Linked DNA regions of Homo sapiens: region 2 is linked to region 1. The links are contacts of gene promoters, found by promoter capture Hi-C in human tissues and cell types (Jung and others, 2019). All regions are on one chromosome and are shown on one strand. Each heading gives the region's core, a stretch centred on a gene start or on the middle of the fragment in contact. The rest is flanking DNA. Distances are from core to core; before and after follow the strand shown.

Evidence for each region. The method cuts DNA at HindIII sites, captures the fragments that hold promoters and counts their contacts. A contact is called where the count stands out against the background at its distance.
Region 2: a fragment that was not itself captured here is called in contact with the fragment with the promoter of MYOC in region 1 in 1 of the 25 tissues and cell types used here (heart right ventricle).

The regions. Positions count from the first base shown.
Region 1 is chr1:171,649,326-171,654,753 of GRCh38, forward strand. It overlaps MYOC (myocilin), which reads right to left and starts at 3,363. Exons shown (of 3, transcript NM_000261.2): 1 at 2,683-3,363. The coding sequence starts at 3,286. The HindIII fragment of the contact is 9,045 bases long and covers 673-5,428 here.
Region 2 is chr1:171,847,521-171,852,883 of GRCh38, forward strand. The region is part of intron 1 of DNM3 (dynamin 3); the gene reads left to right. Among named protein-coding and RNA genes, the nearest start is that of DNM3, 8.7 kb to the left of the region's middle. The HindIII fragment of the contact is 4,362 bases long and covers 53-4,414 here.

The DNA of each region.
Region 1 (5,428 bases), core at 2,113-4,612:
TCTTGCCACTCCTGCAAAAAAGCATACCTAGACTTATATTCCAGCCTCCAGAATGCCCCCTTTTCCCTAGATCTGGCCTTGAAACAGATCTTTTGTTCCAAGCATTCCTGTACCTTTCTGTCTTTTACCTTTAGGGTCTATAAACCAGAGGTCAGCTGAAGGTCTTGAAAGTCAATGAACCTCATGGCCATGTACAGGGAGGGCTCACACCTGTAATCCCAGTGCTTTGGAAGGCCGAGGTCGGCAGATCACCTGAGGTCAGGAGTTCGAGACTAGCCTGACCAACATGGTGAAACCCTGTCTCTACTAAAAATACAAAATTAGCCGGGCATGGTGGCACATGCCTATAATCCCAGCTACTCAGGAGGCTGAGGTAGGAGAATTGCTTGAACCCGGGAGGCAGAGGTTTCAGTGAGCCAAGATCGTGCCATTACACTCTAGCCTGGGCAACAAGAGTGAAACTCTGTCTCAAAAAAAAAGAAAGAAAGTCACTGAACTTCAGAGGAAGAGGCCAGAATTCGAGCTTTGCCACTAACTGGTAGATGGCCATGGACAAGCTGAATAACCTCTCTGGGCCTCAGTTTCCATATCTGCAAAAATCAGCCAGCGGTACCGGATGCTCATTAGGTCCCTTTCCAGTTCCACATTCTTGTACTAATGTAATTTCCTGCTCATGAAAAACATCTACTACTAGAAAAGAACTTCCATGTTTGGTGTTCAATATAATGGGATGTTGCCCTTATTTCAAAAGTGGAGTAGCTGGAAAGATCAAGAAAAAATATAAAATTAGGAAACACATCTAATAAATCCCCAAAGACTTGTTAAATGACCACAAAAGAAAAAAAAAGGCAAAACATTGCCACTATTTTTGTACACACACACACACACCACCCACACCCACATACACACATGCAGGAGTTTTTATTGAGAATGTAACTTCATTCAACAGTCTGAAATAAGTAATGCCTCATCACACTTCTGGTAATGATGATTCTTTCAATTGTCTCCACAGATTCAAGTCTCAAGCTCTACCACTGACCAGCTGGGCAACCTTGGCCCCTTAGCATCTTAGGACTTCACTTTCCTTGGTTGTAAAATTCAGAATTGGATCTCTTCTAATTCTAACAATCTAAACATTTTTTAAAAATCCTTTACATCTTATAGGTATTTCATGTGAACCCCACAAAAATTATTCACAGCAGGAATTTTCTTTGTTATGTTATGGACAAGAAATGAAGATGCAGAGGGTTCAATAACTTGCCCAAGGTCATCCCCAGGCTCTGGCTCTTAGGTTTTCTAACCCCATAGCTATGAAGAGCTTGCCTTTCACGTAGAAGGCTCTTTTTAGGAAATATTTTCTCATAATTTTAAAGCTTTTCAAGCCTATAGAAAAACTGAAAGAATAGTACAATAAGCTCCCCATATACTTAGATTCACCAGTTTGTAATTCACCAGTTATTAATATTTTGCCACAGTTGTTTTACCTTTCTTTCTCTCATTATCTATATATTTGCAGTCTTTCTTCAACCATTTGAGAGCAAATTGCAGACATCCTGACGCCTCACCCTGGGTACTTAAGCATGTATCTCCATAGAACAAAGATTTTATCCTTCGCAACCACAGTATCATTATCTCACCAAGAAACTGAACATTAATACAGTAACATAATAATGAGCAGTCAAATTGCCTCAGTTATCCCAAACCTGTTCCTCATAGCCTTTTTCCCCCTTGGATGAAGACACCAATCAAGACTCATGCACTACATTTGGTTAACACATTTCTTTAGTCTCTTTAATATAGAACAAGCCCTTCCCCACCCCTTTTTTCTTTCTTCCTTGGCACTGACATCTTTGACCAGTCCAAACTAATTGTCCAACAACTGGATTTGCTTGCTTATTTCCTCATGATTAGAACACTTCCTCAACAGGGAATATTTGGGAGCCCACTTTCACAAAAAGTGACACAAATACCATCTTCCCAGCTAATAAGAAGACCTCCCCCAACACCTCACCCCCGCACCCCCCCCACACACACACAGACTCACCTTTAGGCAAGAAGGGACCAGGATGAACAGAAGAGCCTCTCAGAAAAAGCCATCTCAAGAATTTGTCTGATGACTTAAAAGCAGAGGTTCTCAGATTGGACTGAGTAAGAAAACTTTCAGAACAACATATTAAGAAAACTGACAGAGAGGTGCCATCTCTTTATTTTGCCAGGGAAGAACATTTAAAAATAAACAAAAACTTACCACTTATTATCATTTCCCAAATCTATTGTAATTTCATAAATAAAGGTCATTTTAACATCAAAAGGTACAAATAACAATCTGAGCAAAGGTTCAAAAAAGGATAGTTTTTCAAAAGGGACAATTGACAACTTTCTACTGCTCATATGCAGACACATCTCACCCGGTCCTTTTATTTCTCCTTTTGCTATGGACTGTGAAAACTGACATGGAGGGGCACAAGAACTCTGAACCACTAATCTAAATGAAGCTCTCAGGAGCTAAATTACTAGTAATACTTGAAGGTGATCGCTGTGCTTTCCTTAATTCATCTGTCTTGTGCTAGCTGTGCAGTCTCTAGGAGAAAGGGCAGGCAGGGAGGCCTGGAGCGCCTGTAGCAGGTCACTACGAGCCATATCACCTGCTGAACTCAGAGTCCCCCCACTCTGCATTCTTACCTTCTCTGGAGCCTGGTGGCACAGCCCGAGCAGTGTCTCGGGTCTGGGGACACTGGCCCCTTCTCAGCCTTGCTACCTCCTGGCTGCTGCTTTCCAACCTCCTGGCCAGATTCTCATTTTCTTGCCTTAGTCGCTTCTTCTCTTCCTCCAGAACTGACTTGTCTCGGAGGAGGTTGCTGTAGGCAGTCTCCAACTCTCTGGTTTGGGTTTCCAGCTGGTCCCGCTCCCGCCTCAGGGTGCCCAGCTCCCTCTGCAGCCCCTCCTGGGTCTCCTGGGGCCTGGCAGCCTGGTCCAAGGTCAATTGGTGGAGGAGGCTCTCCAGGGAGCTGAGTCGAGCTTTGGTGGCCTCCAGGTCTAAGCGTTGGGTGCTGCTGTCTCTCTGTAAGTTATGGATGACTGACATGGCCTGGCTCTGCTCTGGGCAGCTGGATTCATTGGGACTGGCCACACTGAAGGTATACTGGCATCGGCCACTCTGGTCATTGGCCTTCCTGAGCTGAGCTGTCCTGGCCCCCACATCCCACACCAGGCAGGCCAGAAGCAGCAGCTGGACAGCTGGCATCTCAGGCCCAAAGCTGCAGCAACGTGCACAGAAGAACCTCATTGCAGAGGCTTGGTGAGGCTTCCTCTGGAAAGCTCTGCTGTGCTGAGAGGTGCCTGGATGGGTGGCCTTGCTGGCTCATGCCCGAGCTCCAGAGAGGTTTATATATACTGGGGAGCCAGCCCTTCATGGGGGAAGACAGAGGTGGCCACGTGAGGCTGGGTGGGGCTGTGCACAGGGGGGTTGCCTTCACGCTGCCAGCAAGATTCTTAGAAAATAACCTTCCAGAAGTCTGTTTGGAGTTTCTTTTTAAAAAGAACATCCCAATTTATGCACCCATACCCCAATAATAGTTCCTATATCTCCACCTGGTTTTACACACACACACACACACACACACACGTACACACACTTACACCAGGACTACTGGTGTGCTGATTTCAACAAGGATATATTTCTAGTTTATATTTCCATTCACTCTGCAAACTCATTGAGAACCTGCACTGTGCCAGGCACTATGCTAGGAACTGGAGATCCAAACAAGTCCTTTAAGACGTAGCAGGGACAGAGAAAAATAACAGCCAGCCAGAACACAAGGACAGCACCCTACCAGGCTCCAGGGAGAGCATTCCTATAGAAGCGGCAGATTTCCCCCCTCACCCCTAGCTTTAAAACAACTGTGTATCTTTGGGAGAACTTTCTAATTTCAGTCTTGCATCTCAGGCACCAATGTCAATGTTAGCCTCTAAATCAGTTCTTACTCTGTGTGTGTGCATGCCAAGAACCTCATTGGTGAAATCTGGGGAACTCTTCTCAGAAAGATGTTTTCAAATATATAAAATATAGATTACAAAGGAAACAAATGATAATGAAATATGATTATCAAAATATCAAAATTTTAAACATGTTTTATTAATATGTTAAAAACAAGATCCAGCAGGAGGTCTAATTTCAAAGTAGTTTTGAGTATAAATATTTCACTTACAACGTATCTGCAACAACTGTAATATAGTATAAAATGTCTGTGATTTCTATTGGTAATGACAAAATCACAGGTACTGTTATTACCACTTTGAGTTTATGGCTCTATTCGCAATGGAATAAAATGTTAAATTTAGTTAGAAGGTGGTAAAAACAAAAATGTAATTTTTTCCTCATTCAAATTCACAGGCTTTCTGGACTGTAGGTTAATAATCCCTGCTTTACATTAATAAACCCAAAGAGAAAAAACAAAAAGCAAATGGCAATAGCCAATAAATATACCAAAACTGTCAGAAGTAACTTTAAGCCACTTGAAATAATGATTGCCTTTGAGCAACTTTATGTTGTTAATACCAACAACAGTGTCAATACTTGTGAAGTAAATATTTCCAAACTGCCCTGGCAGACTCACCTCCAGAGTGGAGAAACACAGTTTGCTCTAAAGATTCTATTCTTATTTGATTGGTTCTGCAGTTAAGCCTGAACTTGAGACATTTACAAATGGGTGTTTGTTTACAGCTGACCAAAGGGTACTAGTCTCATTTTCTGAATCAGATAGTAAACATCGCTGAAATGATTTTTCAAAAAACCAATCATATAGTCAGCAAGACCTAGGCTTGAATCTGTTTGGCTTTACTCTTAGGAATGTTTTCTTCCTGTTAAAAGAAACGGGATTGCCCTTGTGCTGCTAACTCCACAGAGAAAAAGAGTTCCTAATAAGGAGAAACTAAGTAATCTTACAGCCTCAGTTACTACCTTGTGACTTGCTCAGAATTACTCAGCTTGTAAAGGAAAAATATAGTATTAGAAATCAGGTCTCCCGACTTCCCTTGAACTGATTTTTTCCCCCCACAATATAGCCCTGCCTCCTAGAACCCAGGATCACGTGGACTATAATCCCTGTGGTCAATTCCCACTGCCCTTGAATGAATCTGTCTTTCTTGCTCATACACTATCCCTCTCTTTTTCTTCTCCTCCCCTGCGCTGCAGGTCACTCCGTGCTGTCAGCAGTCACTGCTGAGCTGCGTGGGGTGCTGGTCAGGGTGAAAAGTTTAACAATCTCTGGCATTTTCCACTTGCTCTGGCCCAGTTTTTGAATGCCAGGCAAAAGCTACCACCAGTTAGTCTCTGCATTCTTTTTGGTTATTGGCAAATGCCATTGTCTATGCTTAGGGAAGGAAAATGTGGCTGTTGGGTTCATTGAGCTTTCCTGAAGCATTGTGG
Region 2 (5,363 bases), core at 984-3,483, 200 kb after region 1:
AGAGAAGAGCAGCAAGGAAAAAAAAAGAGATTGGAGAGATTAAAAATATAACTGGATGCAGTGAAGGTTAATTGAGAGTGGGATGGATCAGATCAAGTATTTTATAAGGACTTCCAAGGCACTAATACTTAAGGGAGGTGAATTCTATTTTCCTTTTAAAGAATAAGTCATTTAGTTAAAGGAGTAGAATAAGTCAAAGACACAAATGTCAGGGAAAATGTCCTAAAGGCAAACCTGAAAATGGAATGAATTGTTTAGAATGGGAGGAGGGTAAAGGAGTTGACACTAAATGATTTGCATTTCATGAATTAAAAATCATTTCCAACAAATTAGAGGGTTCATTAATACCATATTAATTACTCTCTCTCTCTCTCTCTGTGTGTGTGTGTGTGTGTGTGTGTGTGTGTGTGTGATCATAGGTAGCTTAGCTTTTCTTCCTTTAATAGTAGCAAGACTGGCATTTGATGACATTATTATAAGAAGCTTTTCTCTGGCTTGATTTTCTCTAACTTCCTGGAGCACAGTAGGATACAGAGAAACCAGAGATTTGCCCAAGGTCAGAAGAAATCAGAGCTAGGTTTGGAACTTAATGTTAGGAACTGGGAGGCCTGTGCCAGTTCATCATCTTCTCTTCCTCCTGTTATTGTTTTAGAGCACCTCCCTCCAACCCTCACCCTGCCTCCTCCTTTTCCCATCCCTTTGCATTGGGCCAGCCTTTTTCTCTTCCGTGATACTCTCTTTCATTACTCTTCTTGATAGTTGACCAGCAGTGACATTGCATTTTATTACCTTTTTTTTCCCATACAGAATAGTGGAGACAGGGAGCAGAATTTTTCTCAGACTTAGGCAAGTTAATTTGACTGAAATAGTATACTCGTGAGTAAAGCGTGACTTTTAGGGAACAGATGGGCCCAGGAAAAGACTAAATAAGATATTGGATGTTTTTACACATTATTAATATTTATCCACCAGGTGGGCATTAGCTAGAAAGATATGCCTGAGATGGTCATCAATAGGCCTTGCTTAAACCAACACGAGCTTCTGAAAAGTTGTATGTAAATAAATAATCTAAATGGAAATGTTATTATTTAAACAAGTGGGTGAACTTTTAGGTAAAATAAAGATGTATTTGTGTAGCAAATCTGCATCCTTCAGTTTGCCTGTTTTCTATTCTTTTTGTGTGTGTGTTTGCATTCTTAGAGTGCATTGAGTGACATTGAGGTCCATTAATGTTATAGAGATTATTTTAACAATTTTTCAACAAGCATTAATATTGCATTGTCTTTAGTGTTAATTGATAACAAAAACAGAGCAGTTGTTGAGGAAAATGATGATACATTTAATTCCGGAATTATATGAATGATACAGGATTGCTTTAGATCTTGTTTTTCTCTAATATCCCTGCTGCAAGTCCTCTATTTCCAAGGGTTTAAAATGTACCTCAGTGCTTCTTTGTGACAGTGTGTCATTTTTATTTCCCACTGCTTCAAGGTCATGATATACCCATGAATAGCATATATATACATGATAGCAGTAGCTAGGTATCCTGAAGGACCTCATTGTTTATCCTTCCAGTGGCTTGGAATTGAAAGACTAATCTATTTGATAAGTAATTTGATGGGTGACTAAACTTGTTTATGGTGCTTATTTTTTTAGATTTCTCAAAAGTGAGTATTTGAAGAGGAGTCATCACAGCATGGTGATGGAGTGCAGGCTTTGCTGGCAGCTCTTGAGTCCTGCCTCTGACTCTCACTGGTAGCATGGCTCCTCATTACGGAATCTAGCCTCACTTGGCCTCAGTTCCTTCATCTGCAAAATAGGGATTGCAGACTTCACCTTTTAATCTGTGTGTGAGTTCTGAGTAAGATGGTATCAAGTGCCTGGTCCATAGTATGCATTCAATAACTGATTGCTCTTAATTTAAATCTTTTATTTAGACTGGACATTTTTTGAGTGTTTTAAAAACAAAAGTAAGTTGAGGCAGATGGTAATGCGTATTTGCAAATTCTTTTCGTGAATGTTGGAAAATTACAGTTGCATCAAAATACTTACTTGTAGATAAGGCTAATAGAATATATTTGAGCCTTCTTTAAAGAAAGCATTGCCCACATTCGTTAAATGCATTATCACAATGTGTTCTTTTTTTTTTAAACCAATATATACAAAGTGAACCCAGTTTGTATACTCTTCCCTTCCAAGAGTTCCAAAGCAGTTTTTATCATTTCATTAATCCTTCGAATTTCTGTGAGAAGATAGCAAAAGCATGTTTTGTTTACTTTAATTTAGAAATAAAAAAGATTAAGCTGGAAAAAAGTTGGGTGACATACTGGGGTCACATGGTGAGTACTAGAAATTAATGAACAAAATAGACTTAATAACAGATAATAGAATTAAAATGAATTTTTCTGACATTATTTTTAGTTTTCTCCTAGAGAATATATTTTAAGGAAGATATTTGATGCTGTGATATAAAGTAAACCATTCTTAGCATATTCCTTTTCTTTTGGAAATGTTAGATGAAATTGCAGGCAAAGATGGTGTAGAAGGGGGAAAAACAATTGAGGAAGTCTAGTTGGCGAAGCAGGACTACTTAGCAAGAGTATGGTCTGAGCCCAAGGAAACCATCTACAACCAAGTGTTCAGGAGGTAAGGTGTAATTAGATCTTAAAAGAAGTACCAACATTTTTGTAGTAGATGTTGAAATAATACCAAATCACTCTTTTTTCCAGTGGAAAGATTCATATTCTGATTTGATTGACATTCCCATAACTTGTTAACCATCAGTTTTAGCTCTGAGCTAGTCAGCTGGTTCTGTTTGGAATTACATTATTTTTAAGTTACTAGATATACCTCAGAAGCTTTGAAAAGAATAGCTTTGGGTTTCTTATCTAGTGGAGGTTTAGAACCCTGTATATGTGTGTCTGTTTATGTTTTCTGGTTAATAAAACTAAGACCCATTCTCTTCATATTTTGAAAAGAGGGGCAAAGGCTTGCAATTATTTTTATAGATCCTAGCATTCATGGTTCTGAGTCCTACTACCAGGACAGCAACAATTGTGTGGTGAGATTTCTGCATTCTCATCTAAATACCGATAGAACGACCTGCATACTGAAGTCCTTGTAAATTCAACTTAAGAAACTTTAGCCTGTTTATTTAATCCTAAAAACATATCATGTAAAATGTGTATGTGTGGGTACTTGATTTGAATTATGTACTTTGAAAGTTACATATTCTCTTAGGGCTTTGTTTTTTTTTTTTTTTCCTCAGAGTAAGTTAAGAAGGGAAGTGGCAGAAGGATCATGAGTTCCTTGCTTGCAGAGTAAGTGGGGAGATGAGAAGGAGGAAGCAATGCTTTTGTGAGTGTCCACCAGATTGTAGGGACATACGAAGAGAAAAGACTGGTAAGGTTCAACCACTGTGAGAATTAGGAGTATTTGTGAATGAGTTAGTCTGGGGTGGCTTTGGTTCTCTCCTGCTCCCTGTGGCAGGTGGTCCCTGCATATTTGTTCAAAGTGTGCCACAGGTAAGCAAGGTAGCATGCCAAGAACAGTGAGAGCTGGGTTTAGTCTGGCCTCTGCTGTCATCTGCTGGTCTTCTCAGCTCTATCTGTCTGATTTAGAGGCCCCTCCTTGGTGGCCCTTGTTAATATTTCACTGCACAGGAATCTACCGAACAGTTGGTTGCCTCCTCTGTCTGCTCAACTATTTGCAGCTTCCACGAAGCCAGGAGCTGTGTCTCCTTTATCATTTTCCGTAGTGCAGTGCCGGCATATGGCAGGAGCTAACTGAATGAATCAGCTACTTGACTCTGTACAAGCCATTTATCTAAGCTGAAACATACCTTTGTCATCAATAAATTGGTTGAGAATAGTTGAGTGGGCTTGGATTAGAACGGTTGTTGTTTTTTGAGACAGAGTCTCGCTCTGTCGTCCCGGCTGAAGTGCAGTGAGTGGCATGATCTCAGCTCACTGCAACCTCTGCCTCCCAGGTGCAAGCAATTCTCATGCCTCAGCCACCTGAGTAGCTGGGACTACAGGAGTGCGCCACCACACCTGGCTAATTTTCATATTTTTAGTAGAGACGGGGTTTCGCTATGTTGGCCAGGCTGGCCTTGAACTCCTGACCTCAGGTGATTTGCCCGCCTCTGCCTCCCAAAATGCTGGGATTATAGGCGTGAGCCACTGCACCCGACCTGAACAGTGCTTTTTAAACTGTAGATTGTGACCTAATAGTGGGCCATGATATCAGTTTAGTAGATGGTGTGTGACAGTGTTAAGCGAAGTATCAGACTACATCCAAGGTAGTTATAAGTACCACTTTGTGAAAGTTTTGTATTAGTTGCATATTTGTATATGCATACTAGGCTGCAATGTAAAATGTATTTCTTACTATGGGTTATCCTCAAAATTGTTGAATGCCTCTGATCTAGATTAAATCTAATATTACTTCTAGTCATTTATTTGGTTATTTTCTATTTAAATGGCAGGACATATCTTTTTATTAGAGAAGACACAATTCACACTATACCATTACTATTCCACTAGGATGAATTAAAATGGAAATAACTTTATTAATTTAAAAAAGCTGTCTTTTAATTGAAAAAGTGATATGTACATGTAATACAAATTCAGACATTCCAAAATACATTATATTTATACCACATAAATCCCTTTCCCCTATTGAGGTTTCTTAGTAAGATGTTTCATTTACCTGCCTATCTTCCAGATTACTTCTGAATTTATATTTTCTTTATATGAAATTTATTTGAGTTTTGAGGACAGAGAGAATTTAATAAACTTGTTTGTAAGTAGATGATACAACCAGTTAAGAAAGGACATGTTTGAAAATTCTTTTAGCAGATGGATTTGTCCATTTACTGAGTCATTTACAAAGAATCATATGTTGAGAGTCCACAATATGCCAGGAATTGTGTGAGGCTCTGGTATGCAACAGCTCCTTCAAAGAGCTTGGTGATCCAGTGGGTACAGGATTGCTATGCACTGCACTGTCAGGATACCCAGGCTAACAATTCTTATGAGAGCCATTTGTCAGAGAATAGTTGGTGAGTTCATGATACTGTCTCTAAATATTTGAGGAGCTGTTACTTGGAAAAGGATTAGACTGACTCAGTTATCTCCCCAGAAGACATAATTAGAACAAATGGGTGAATGTTACAGGCAGATAGACTTAAACTTAACGTAGAGGAGACTGTTCAATAGAACACTTTAAAAAATGGAATGGATTGCCTGTGAAACAGTAAGTATTCCATCCCCATAAGTGTAGAGACTGGCGATTGATGACTTGCTGGCTGCTTGGCATGGTGTAGTCAGGAGAGGGGTTGAACAAAAGGACTTTGAAGGTTT